Linked DNA regions of Homo sapiens: region 1 is linked to region 2. The links are contacts of gene promoters, found by promoter capture Hi-C in human tissues and cell types (Jung and others, 2019). All regions are on one chromosome and are shown on one strand. The core of a region is centred on a gene start or on the middle of the fragment in contact, and the rest is flanking DNA. Distances in the headings are between cores, read along the strand shown.

Region 1 (5,874 bases), core at 899-3,398, 610 kb before region 2:
AAGGGATGTGCATAATTATTTAGTTATTTGTGTTAATTACATAGTAGCATACTTGCTTGAAATTCTTTCTTTTTTCCCCCTTTTCTTTCCAGTGATCTCTCTTCTAACAACCTTGTTCCTGAAGAATCAACAGTTTTTTCTTGCTGTGGGTTTAAAAAAATTCATTTTGTAGCCTTTTTGAGTGGGTAGTATTGATCCAATCTGACACAGACTTGCAAGTGTAAACTCTTAATACAGGAAAAACTTCAATTCTTAATACGGAAAGCTTGTATTAGTTTTGTTGTTGAGCTTAAACAGTTCTGGTTGAATGGCATGTTGTATATAGAATTCAAAACTCCAAAACCTGTTTGGTAAATAACTAGGCATTTGAGGTCCAATGGCTAATTCAAATTAAGTTAGTTCTATACATGTAAGTGCACATCCTGTTTAGACTGACACGTGGTTTGGTAAAAGAAAAAAAATGAATATACACTTGGAAAGATGCTATCTGTGGAGTATATAAATAGTAAATAGCAAAAGAGTGAAGTTTATACTCAGGTATGTTGTCATCTTTTTGGTTGTCCTCAGTGGGGGTGAGTTATGAGTGATAAGGAGAATTTAAATTTCTAAATTTACCTTTTCCAGTTAAAGGAATGAATTTAAATGCTTAAAGAATTTTTTTTTTTTTACTTACAAAGCAAGTTTAAAATATGATCTAATGCTTACAGTATGTACTACCTTCTTGAAAAGCTCTGTTCTTTTTCTGAGTGATAAGTAATCATTGATTTGAGGGTATGTTCAGATTATATAAAAAAGTAAAACTTACAGGACAAAATTTATGTTTCCTAATCTCCTAAAATACACTGGATTTCAAATAACGGAGAGTTCTAATGTTGAATACTGTTTAGATTTCCAGCAGGTATAATTGTTGGATATAATTGATTGGCATAACCTGGATGATTCACCCAATATCCAATCAACTTCAGTGGTAGAGAATGCTATAATTGGAGTTTTGAGAGTAACCTGGAAACTTATTTGTCTAGGCCTGAAGTCAAATGCATTCCCTCATGCACTGGTCAAAAATTTTTAGTCTGAGAAATGAAGATTTATTTTAAAGGCGAAGAAAGTGCTTGGCTGTTTCAAATAAACTATATCCTGAACTTAGATTTGTAGATAGTTAATGAAATAAAAGTCCAATTTTGTTCCAAACATTGTTTTAAAACACCCATTTGTAAATTGTCTGCATTTGGTTTTCATATGTTAATGATTTGGGATCTGAAACTTATTTCAGAAAGGCATTTTGGTTTATCTTAAAAAACACCACACAAAACTGTCTAAACAACTCTGTAAATAAACTGTTCCAAATGCCTCAATTTGATGAATGAATTAAAGAATTATGGTTCTTAATCCAATTATGATCAGTCTGGTTATTCCATTTCCCATTTGGGGGAGCTTGGGGAGTTGGAATAGTAAATGATTCTCAAATGTGAGTGGGGTCTTTGTTGTTTACTTTGTGTGTGTGATGTAACGTAAATAATCACTCATACCTAATATTTATGAGAGGGATTTCTGATGTGGAGAAGTAATTTCAAGATCTTAAATTAACCAAGAGTTCGTTTGCATGAAAAGTTGCCATTAATAAAGGAGTAAAGTGAAGTTTTTAAAAATATGAAGCAAAGATCTAACCTTTTGCTTAAATATAATGAATTTTGATATTTAAGAGGGGAGAAATGGAGTGCTTAAGGCTCAGTAGAAGGGCAGACAATCAGGCACTTTTAGTTTGTTTTAGCCAGGCCATATGGGGACATTTCTGTAGGACTATTTAATAAATTTTACCAAATTCAATTTCCTTGTCTTTAAAATTGAGTCAGGGTCAAAGGTAGGCTAACTATGAGTTAGCGGAATTTCGCGGGGGGTTGTTTCCTCCAAAGCCCTGCTCCTTTATCTGCCTACACGGGACTTTTGAAGGCTTTACCAGCGAGGACCCTGACCTTCAGGATGGGCCCTTGACAGTCCATTTTGCTTTGATGGGCCCTTCTGAATTCCTGCCTCATTTGCCCCATTTAACCTCTGGCTCATAAGCTAATTATTTTAAAGTTGCTAATAGTTCATTATGGTTTAATTCTCAAACTAGATGATATTACTGTTATTTTGGCAGTTTATTATGATCGTCTAATTCCATAGAGATAAACTTGTTGCAATTACAGGTATCAAGGAAAGCTGCCAGGAGGAAATATTTACATGCATGAGGACTTTTTCAGGACTACTCAAATCATACCTTATAGGCAACTAATGATTTTACTTGCAATTAAGGATAACATTCAGTAGGGGCAGCATATTGACAAAATTAGGAAAAATTTGAATGCATGTAAATAACCATTAAATAACCATCCTTCAAAATTGAGCCATAAAAATGTATCTTGGGGAGTACTAGTGATGGTGGCATTGAATTCTACAAGTATAAGTCCATTCATTTTCTATTTCTTAAAGTTCATTATAAGTAAAAACAAAACACCCCAAAACAAAGACCTGATTGTATCTCTGATGCTCAGCTACATGTCATTCAACTACTGTATGTTTTTATGATATCCTATGTACATAGCTTAAAAATAATACAGTAGTCATAGGGATGAGCGGACTTTAGTTTGATACGCAGTTTGTATTCTCTGGTAGCTTAAGACATTTTTTCTTACTTCAACACCAATTAAACTGTTGGAAGTGAGGGAATTCAGGAAGGAATCAGGAGAGGAGAAAGGCTATCTCATTTGTAGGTCTGTGATTCATCCAAAACGTTATTTAGAGATCTGAACTTACAGGGTTCTACCTCCTTTTTTTTCTTAACCTCTTTTTTTCTTTCTTTCTTTCTTTTTTTTTTTTTTGAAATGAAGTCTTGCTCTGCCACCAGGCTGGAGTGCAGTGGCGCTATGTTGGTCCACAGGCGGAGGGATGTTGAACCCTCCGCCTCCTGGGTTCAAGGGATTCTTGTGCCTCAGCCTCTGGAGTAGCTGGGATTGCAGGCATGCGCGGCCACACCCAGCTAATTTTTGTATTTTTAGTAGAGGTGGGGTTTCACTATGTTGGTCAGAGTGGTCTCGATCTCCTGACCTCGTGATCCTCCACCTCAGCCTCCCAAAGTGCTGGGATTACAAGCGTGAGCCACCGTGCCTGGCCTTCTTAACCTCTTAAACTGCAAATTATGATGCCCTTTCTTATAGGGGTATTGTTTGGATTATGTTAGATACTACGTGTGAAATGCCTAGCATAGTGTCTGTCATGAACTAGGTGCTCAATAAATGTTAGCTACACTCAGCTCTCTCTCCCAGTCGAGTCTAGGTTCTGATCATTAATAACGTTTGAAGTTTCATTTTGTACTTACTTTGAACTTATTTGAGTCTAAAAAGAAAAAATGTATCACTTTCTTGAGGCTGAGATCAACACTTTAAAATAGTGATTCAGTGGTCTGTATATGATCTCTGACAATGTGGTTTTATTAAGGTGCTGTATTTGGTGCAAGTGTGAATTCTATCTTTTATTCATATAAGTGCTCCTTCAGTAATTAACATTTTTACCCTACATAATAGGTAAGGATAAATAAAAACTTTAGGACCTAATTCTGTAGATTTTTCCTCTTGTTATCTTTTTGATTTCCTGTTAGCAAATATGAACTAGTGAAAATTTATTGAGATTTAATCGTTTGATAGTCATTCACCTCTGCATTATATTAAGTTATAGTACCTGTGGATAAACAGAAAGTCCGTGTGGAAAAAGAAATCCATCTGAGTTTTCAATGTTTTGCTCTCTGGAGTCAACAGTCCTTCAAAGAGAAACTTGTAGGTTGGTTTGTTTATTTAAATTGGGTGCAAGGAGAAAGGCACCATAAACATACCATTGCCTGATTTGAAGAGGTGATGTAAAGTAACATGGAGAAATTAGTTGTTATTTTCTCTTCCCAATGAAACAGAATTTGTCTATCAGTACAACTAAGCAAAGATAAAGGAAAGTCTTCTTAAAACAGAAAATAAATGTATTTTCTTGCATTAATTGGGGTTCCTGAAGAAGCAGTTGCCAAGATGGGATTAGACCTGTAAGAAGTTTATTAGGGGAGAGGGCAGGACAAGGCCGGGAGAGCCTTTTGACTATGAGGCAAGTTTGACACTTATGCAAGGAGAGGGGCAAGGGAAGACGATTGAGTAGGAAGAAGCTTGACTATAGTGCAGCCTATGAAAGGTTTGGCTAGGCAAATAAGAGTCAGCCATTGGAAGAGTCACCTATCTTGAAAGAATGGCCTGTATCAGCATTCCTCACTGTCAGTCATTGGCTGGGAGCAGCTACAGGAAGCATGGCCTCCGTGCCTAAGTGGTGCTAGAGCCATAGGGGAAGCAGTTGGGGAAGTAAGTCAGTTACACTCTCAAAACAGGAGATCTGAATGGTATAGCTGTGGTTTGGCAGTATAGCCCAGTTTAGTAGTACTTCACTTGCTTTGGACACTTGCTTTGGACTCTGTCTTTTTCTGTCTCTCTGTCACACACACACACTCACACACATGAGACCTGGCAATTTCTTTGAGGTCTCTTTGAGTTTTGAGTTTCTTTGAGCTTTGTTTTCCTCAATTGCAAAATGAGTGTAATGGCAGTATCACCTCACTAATTGGGATTAAATTAGGTTATACGAGATCATCTCTAAGTCCATTGTACTGTTTGTGGCATGGAGGAAATGCCCGATGTATTTTACACTCTTTTCGATGTACTCACAAAATGCATCTGAAAGCTATAGATGAATTTTATCAGGTGATTGTAAATATATTTAAATAATGGATATTTCATATAATTGGAAGGCATTGTTTATGCAAGCAAACATCTTTAATGCTTATCATTTAAAAATAGCTTGGTTCATTTATCTTCCATTAATCCTTATTTTTTATCAGAGTATAAACCGTACACCAGCTATACCAACTGACCTTGACCATCTTTAGGTAATTGGCCCTAAAGCATGAGGCAGAACTCTCTTCATTTCCTTACCTCTCTAGGCTTTCTATTCAGTTGAGTAGCAACGCACTGGAAGTCTGCATTTTATCTTGAGCCTCAAACACCTTGCAAGTCTTTGCTCCCCTGTGTTACTGTTCCTAAACCAACTTGCAGCACCACAAAGCACTGAACTCAAGTGGCCCTCAGCGCGAGCTCCTGCTGTGATGAGTCGCAGAGCCACCAGCACTTTGTTGCCTTAGATTTGATCACTGCCATGAGCAGTCCTTCGATTGTCAGCTAAGAGCCCCTTCAGGGAGTTGTCCCTTAATAGAAAGTCTCTTTTCTTCCCTCCTGTTGTAACTTTAAATTAAAAGAAACTGTAGAGGAGCTGGTGGCATTGCAGTAGTTCATTCTTCTACCCACTGGGAGAACAACATCTGAGAAAAGACGTTATTGGACTGAGAATTGAGTTGTTGCTATTTTTTTGGGCCAGAGTCGGCGGGGAGGCGGTTGTGGTGGAGGATGAAGACCACGTCATTTAGACTCAGTCAGACTGGTAATCAGGATTGTGATTGAGAGCAATACTTTTGTGTATGCAAGGAAGCTTTCTTTTTGGATACAAGAAGACGCCCACTTAGCCTGTGAGTTTCAGTAGGATTCCTGGGACCCCTAATATTTTGACCCAGATTTTTAGGTGGTTCTCTGTGTTGTACTGTGGGAAACTGGCACTGGGACAACTTTGGAATCCAAGGAGGATGGGAGGCAGGAAAAGAGAGCTAATTTTTGACACATTCCTCAGACAAGGGACTCCTCTAGGGAATCTGTGCCCAGGATAAGGACTGCTTACTGTGAAGCTTTTGGCATAATTTTTTCCTGAAGAGTGAGCACGGGTTGCTTCAATGTCTCTACTTAAAAAGACTGACAAACTTAC
Region 2 (5,388 bases), core at 1,595-4,094:
TATGTACAGATGTATACATATATTAAGTGCCAATAAAATCAAAATCAAATATAAGGAAGATTCTAATATGAGTATCTTTTCTTTATACTATAGTTGGCCTCAAACACTCATACTCTTTCTTACCTGCTCTGGTGACCTTCTAGATTAGAGTTTCAAAGAAACAACCAGAGGTAGTAGCTGTAGCAAGACAGCAGCTGGGACCATACGGATCTCAGCATCCTGCCTTATGGCCATTATCTTTGTTTCTATCTTTATGCTGCCACTATGTCTCCTTGTGCTCTCTCTGCGTCCTCTCCTCCCGCCTCCTCCTCTTCCTGACTCCACTCCCATGGCTCCCTGTAACTCACCCATCCTCCTTCTTCACTTTTTTTCTCTATTGATATAAGATAAGCAAGATTTTTCCTAGTTAGGAAAAAAATTTTAAATATTTTTAAAAGTGTATATAGCTATGCAGCTACTATACCCTAATTCTCATAACAACCATTAACAAATGAAGAAAAATATAATTTTTGTATACATTATCCATTAGAGTATATTAGATTGTAGGTCCCTTAAGGGCTGAAAAAATAGAGATTTAAAATAAATGCAACAATTTTTTCATTTTTCTGTGTGGGAGTAGGTTGTTGCTGTAACAAAAAATAATTTGAGACTAACAACAAGAAAGAATAGTGAGTAATATTCTTCCCCCCTTCCCCAACTGCTGAAAGTGAAAATCATGTCAGCATCAAGTCATTTTTGCCACATCCCTTGTTAACAGCTTTTTCAGGGTGGGTCATAGTTCTATGTTTTGTTAGTGTCTTAACTCCATAGTGACATGCTTAAATCTTATTCCACATTGATTTTGTAGTGTGTGTGTGTGTATATATATATTTTTAGAACATCTCCTGATGATAGAATTAAATATTAAGTTATTATCAACTTGTCTAAAAATTTATAAGCTTTGAATGAAAAATAAATTTACTAATATAAGTTCATAATTGATTTTTTTCTCTTTGGAATATGTGTATGATGTATCACTGTGAATGTCTAAAAAAGTAAACTTACTGTTTGCCTGTCTCCAGAAAAAAAAGTGGGACCTAATCAAACTGCCGTGGGGTCAACCCTTGTGGTTTTAAAGGCCCTTAATGTTGTCCAGCTGCAAAATAAAAGGAATTGGGAGGGGAAGTTGGAAGGAGTGGAGGGGGTTGGGGGGGAGGAATGTGTGGAAAAGAACAGGGAGTCTGGCTTTTATTTTTTTTTTAAGTGAGTTCAGTGCCAGCCTGGACATTGGCTGTACAGACTATTGAGCCATTGTCTGCTCCATTTCCAGAATAGCCCCCAGTTAATCACTTCGGCTTTGAAGGGAATTTCCTCGTGGAATTCTCCACAGAAAATCTAATCAACTGACCTGCCCTCTCAACAATGGAAGGCTTTTTTTTCCTCTCTTTCCCTTATTGGGGCGGGCTCTGTAATGTAGCCTTTTGTGCAGAATGAACCCTCCCAGTAGGAGTGGAGAGCGTGCGTGAGTGAGTGTGTGTGTGTGTGTGTGTGTGTGTGCATGCGTGTGTGAAGAATGCACACTATCTCCTGTTGGTAAGTGTGTGCTTACTCCCTGACCAGATGCTGCGGTGCACGGGGCAGCCACCATCTCTGCATGCATGTCTGTGTAAGTGTCTCTCTCTCTGTGTGTATGTGCCTCTGTCATTTCGTGTCAAAGGTACATTACCTGATTACCTTTCTCGGCTGCCAGATTTTTATCTAGATAATTGGAACTGCTATGGAGGCTGTGCCTTGCCAGCCAGCTTAGAATCTGTAAAGCCATAGTTTGTCCACCTTGTTATCTGTGGCTGCCTGGGCAGAGGAAATTAAAGAGATCCACAGCCAGGGGGGCGCTTCCTACTCCTGACCTCCCCAGCGATCCCAAACAGGACAGTTTGTTAGTACCGTCTTTTTGTTTTTATGTTTTGATTTCGTTTTGGGTTTTTGTTCGCTCGTGTATGTTATTTTGGCATGTGGATACCTATTCCCCTCCACATCGCACATCGTGTTTTATGGAGTTTAGAGCTGAGGAAACTTTGGTCGGGTTGCCAGGACGTTCGCACCACTTTGCGGAAAGCACGAGCTAACAGTGAGACCGACAGAGTGAGTGACAAGTTGTTTACAGGTTTCCTTGAAGGGGCCTCTGCTATATTTCAATCTGTCAAAGTTGCTTTTCTTCCCTCAGAACAATGCCTGATTGTTGTGTGTGTGTGAGTGTGTGTGTGTGTGTGTGCGTGTATTTCCGTGTGTGAACGGAGAGAGCCTAGAAAAGGGTGAGAAGGAATAACAATTCTTTGTGTAAAAATGCTATTACTAACATTAAATTTTTTGCTTAATTAGTTAATAAATGCAGTTTAATCGAGCTTCTGTTATTATATAGACTAGGTTTTTAATCAGCAGCAAATACGTTTTACAAAATCATACTGTTCTGCGTGTGTATGTGTGTGTGTGAGTTTTATGATTTAGAAGACAGAGTATGGGAGACGTGTTAAATGAGTTGACTTCTCACATTCAGTGATGTCTAGAAGAGAGAATTAAAAGGAAAGGACAGGCACCCTGAGGTTGTCTAGAGCCTTGCAGCCGGAGCGTGTGGCTCCGCGGAGGGGGGAGCAGCCAGACTCCGCTGCTGGAAGTGCACTACCCCTTTAAGAGACTGGTCAAGGAGTCCTAGGAGAGAGAGGAGGGGAAGGAGGGGGGGAGAAAGAGAGAGAGAGAGAGAGAGAGAGAGACAGAGAGAGAGAGGGAGAGAGAGAGAGAGAGAGAGGGAGGGAGGGAGGGGGGGAAGAGACAGAGAGAAAATCAATTGGTTTAGAAGGTTTGGACTCACTTGACAGGTTCAGTTGGAGACGATCATAGGTGGCTGCTGTGACAAAGGGAAATTGTGCTTTTCCAGCATGCTTACTGACCCTGATTTACCTCAGGAGTTTGAAAGGTGAGTACAGTTTTTTCCCCCTAATATATTGAAGTACAACTCTCCCATTTTACAGTAGTCTCTGAATCATTGGAAGATGCTCCCCCAAAACGTGTTTGTTAGAGAAGCCTTTAGCTAGGGCTTCTGCAATCTTGTTAGCTGATTTTTTGTTGTGATTGCCCGGACCAAACTGAACTGATTTGCAAAGTCTCCGAGATTTCTGCTAATGTTTTTAGGTTGCGTCCTATAACAGCAAATTAAATGAACCTTAAGCATCTCTCTCTCTCTCCCCAACTCGCTGCTTCTGTCTTTCTCATTCACTCTCTTACTTTCTTCCTTCATTGATTGTTTTCTCCCCACCTTTTAAAAACGCTTTTGTGCAGAATGTTACCATTTTCAGCATCTCTGTCTCATGTAATTTCTAGGGTGACAGAAGGTTTTAGTGGTGCTTTAAACGGAGGCTATAAGTTCCTATTTGATCCTTCCGTAAAACTTTGGAAGCTGCTCAGTAAAGCACATGACCTTTTGTTGATATAAGAGAGCGTTTTTTCCCCCCAAAGAAAATTTAACATCATCGCTATATTAGATTACTCCCTAAGTGTCAAAAATAGGGGCGAAAAGGGGATAAATGGAGCTGTTCCCTTTCTAAGTTTTAGTGGCCACTTTTTGTGTTAGCTGTCTTGACTGAATTTTAATTTACTGTATTTTCCCCTTTTGCTATGATGGGAATAGTGTATTTGTAATTAAGTTGTTCCTATTTAGAGAAATATCTGCAGCATCCTTTTATTTGATGTTGTTGCAAGTAAAGCAGGGCTTTGAAAGAATTTTAGCCCTCTTAATGTTCCTATAAGTACACATTGCAATTTTTAAATTTGAGTTCTTATCCCAGCATAAGTTCATTTTTTTGAACTATAAATAGAATTTTGTTTGCCATTAAAAAGAATTCAAACTTTGTATTCTGTATGGTGAATTAAAAAAAAAAAAGCTAAAAAAAGCCAGGATGCATGATACCCAGGCTTTTTTTCATTTTCATGAAAGCTACCTTCTGTATAAACATTTGTTGTATCTGACTATGCAATGCAAGCTAGGTGCTAGACCAGCTGGTTAAAAATATGCTAAGTCAAGCTGTTCATCGCTCAAACGACTGAATTTGATATGAAAAGACGAAAAAAGAAAGGACAAAGATTAAAACATTCTAGAAGTGAAGCAATGGAAGAGAAAAAGAGTATTGAGGATAAAGTAACGCTTGAATGTGGTCACATATTAGAAAAGCCAGTATCAAATCAGGGAAGAAAGTAAAATAGCCAACACATATACTTCGGTGCTGTCATCTTTCTTTGATTTCTTCTGTGTTTTTTTTTTTAATAATTAAATTGCATCTTTACTAGATAATTCCAGCGAATGTTTGAGCTTTCTTAACAGTTTTGAATTAAAATTTTCACTTCTATATATTAACTCTTTAATTAGTGAGCTTTTATTTGCAAATATAGCCTTATATCATAGGTAGATGTTGAAGTTATTCATAGTGGAACATACTGTACATTACCTAATGTAGCGATTTGCTAATTTAACACAGTTAAGTTTTCTAGAATGCACAGAGTAGCACTTAAATGATAATATTCTTTAATTCTAATTATACTTTTTGCAAATACAACTCTGAGGCTGATTTGTAAGCCTGTTAACAGATTGTACTTATAAAAAGGTAGTTACATATTAACAGGCTGTAGCCTATTTCTCTATATAGGCAAGCTTCCTGCTGTGAACTTTATTTGTATTTTTTTTTCAATTATCTCTTTTTAAACTAAACTTTTCCCTTTCCTATTCTGATGCTCAAATCTGTTAACATCTTTTTTCCTCCTGGTGGGAATTTCATTTTTTTTTTTCACCCAGAGGCATGCTTTTCTAACTAGCTAATTAAATAAGCAAGTGATAATCAATAGGGTTGTTAGTATGACTATCATATTTAGAAATATTAGTAGCTAAAATAATTCTGAAAAATGTCACACAATATAACGTTCCTTAATAATTTCCCCTGTGGTTGTAATTGGTAATACATACAAAGATCTCAGCAAATCATTACTATTTGTTTACATTGAATTTGTACGGGTGAGTGTCTCTATAGGCACCCATGCATGATACAGTGTATCATGTAGACACAATATTGAATATTTATATTCTTCAAAGGAGGTATTTATGATGTAACTAAACTATCACATATAATTAGATTTTTTGCCTTTTCAACTATTTGCAACTTTCATTGAATAAATAGGTCATTTCTATTGACTGTTAATTTTTATTCTATTGGGTCACTTGCTATAGATGAATTTCCCACTTAAACTTAGAAATCTAAAAGAAGACTTCTAAATTTCTTTGTGAAATAGAGAACTTTGATCTAGAGGACATAATAAATTGCTTAGGGTTCATGTACTGTAAAAGTTTTATGTGATCATTTTTACTAA

What was found. Contacts are between HindIII fragments. The study calls those that stand out against the background at their distance.
Region 1: a fragment that was not itself captured here is called in contact with the fragment with the promoter of SOX5 in region 2 in 1 of the 25 tissues and cell types used here (dorsolateral prefrontal cortex).

The regions. Positions count from the first base shown.
Region 1 is chr12:24,554,385-24,560,258 of GRCh38, reverse strand. It overlaps a transcript of SOX5 not described here. Among named protein-coding and RNA genes, the nearest start is that of LINC00477, 27 kb to the left of the region's middle. The HindIII fragment of the contact is 5,433 bases long and covers 1-4,864 here.
Region 2 is chr12:23,947,126-23,952,513 of GRCh38, reverse strand. SOX5 (SRY-box transcription factor 5) reads left to right here and starts at 2,844. Exons shown (of 15, transcript NM_006940.6): 1 at 2,844-2,950. The coding sequence starts at 2,913. The HindIII fragment of the contact is 5,378 bases long and covers 29-5,388 here.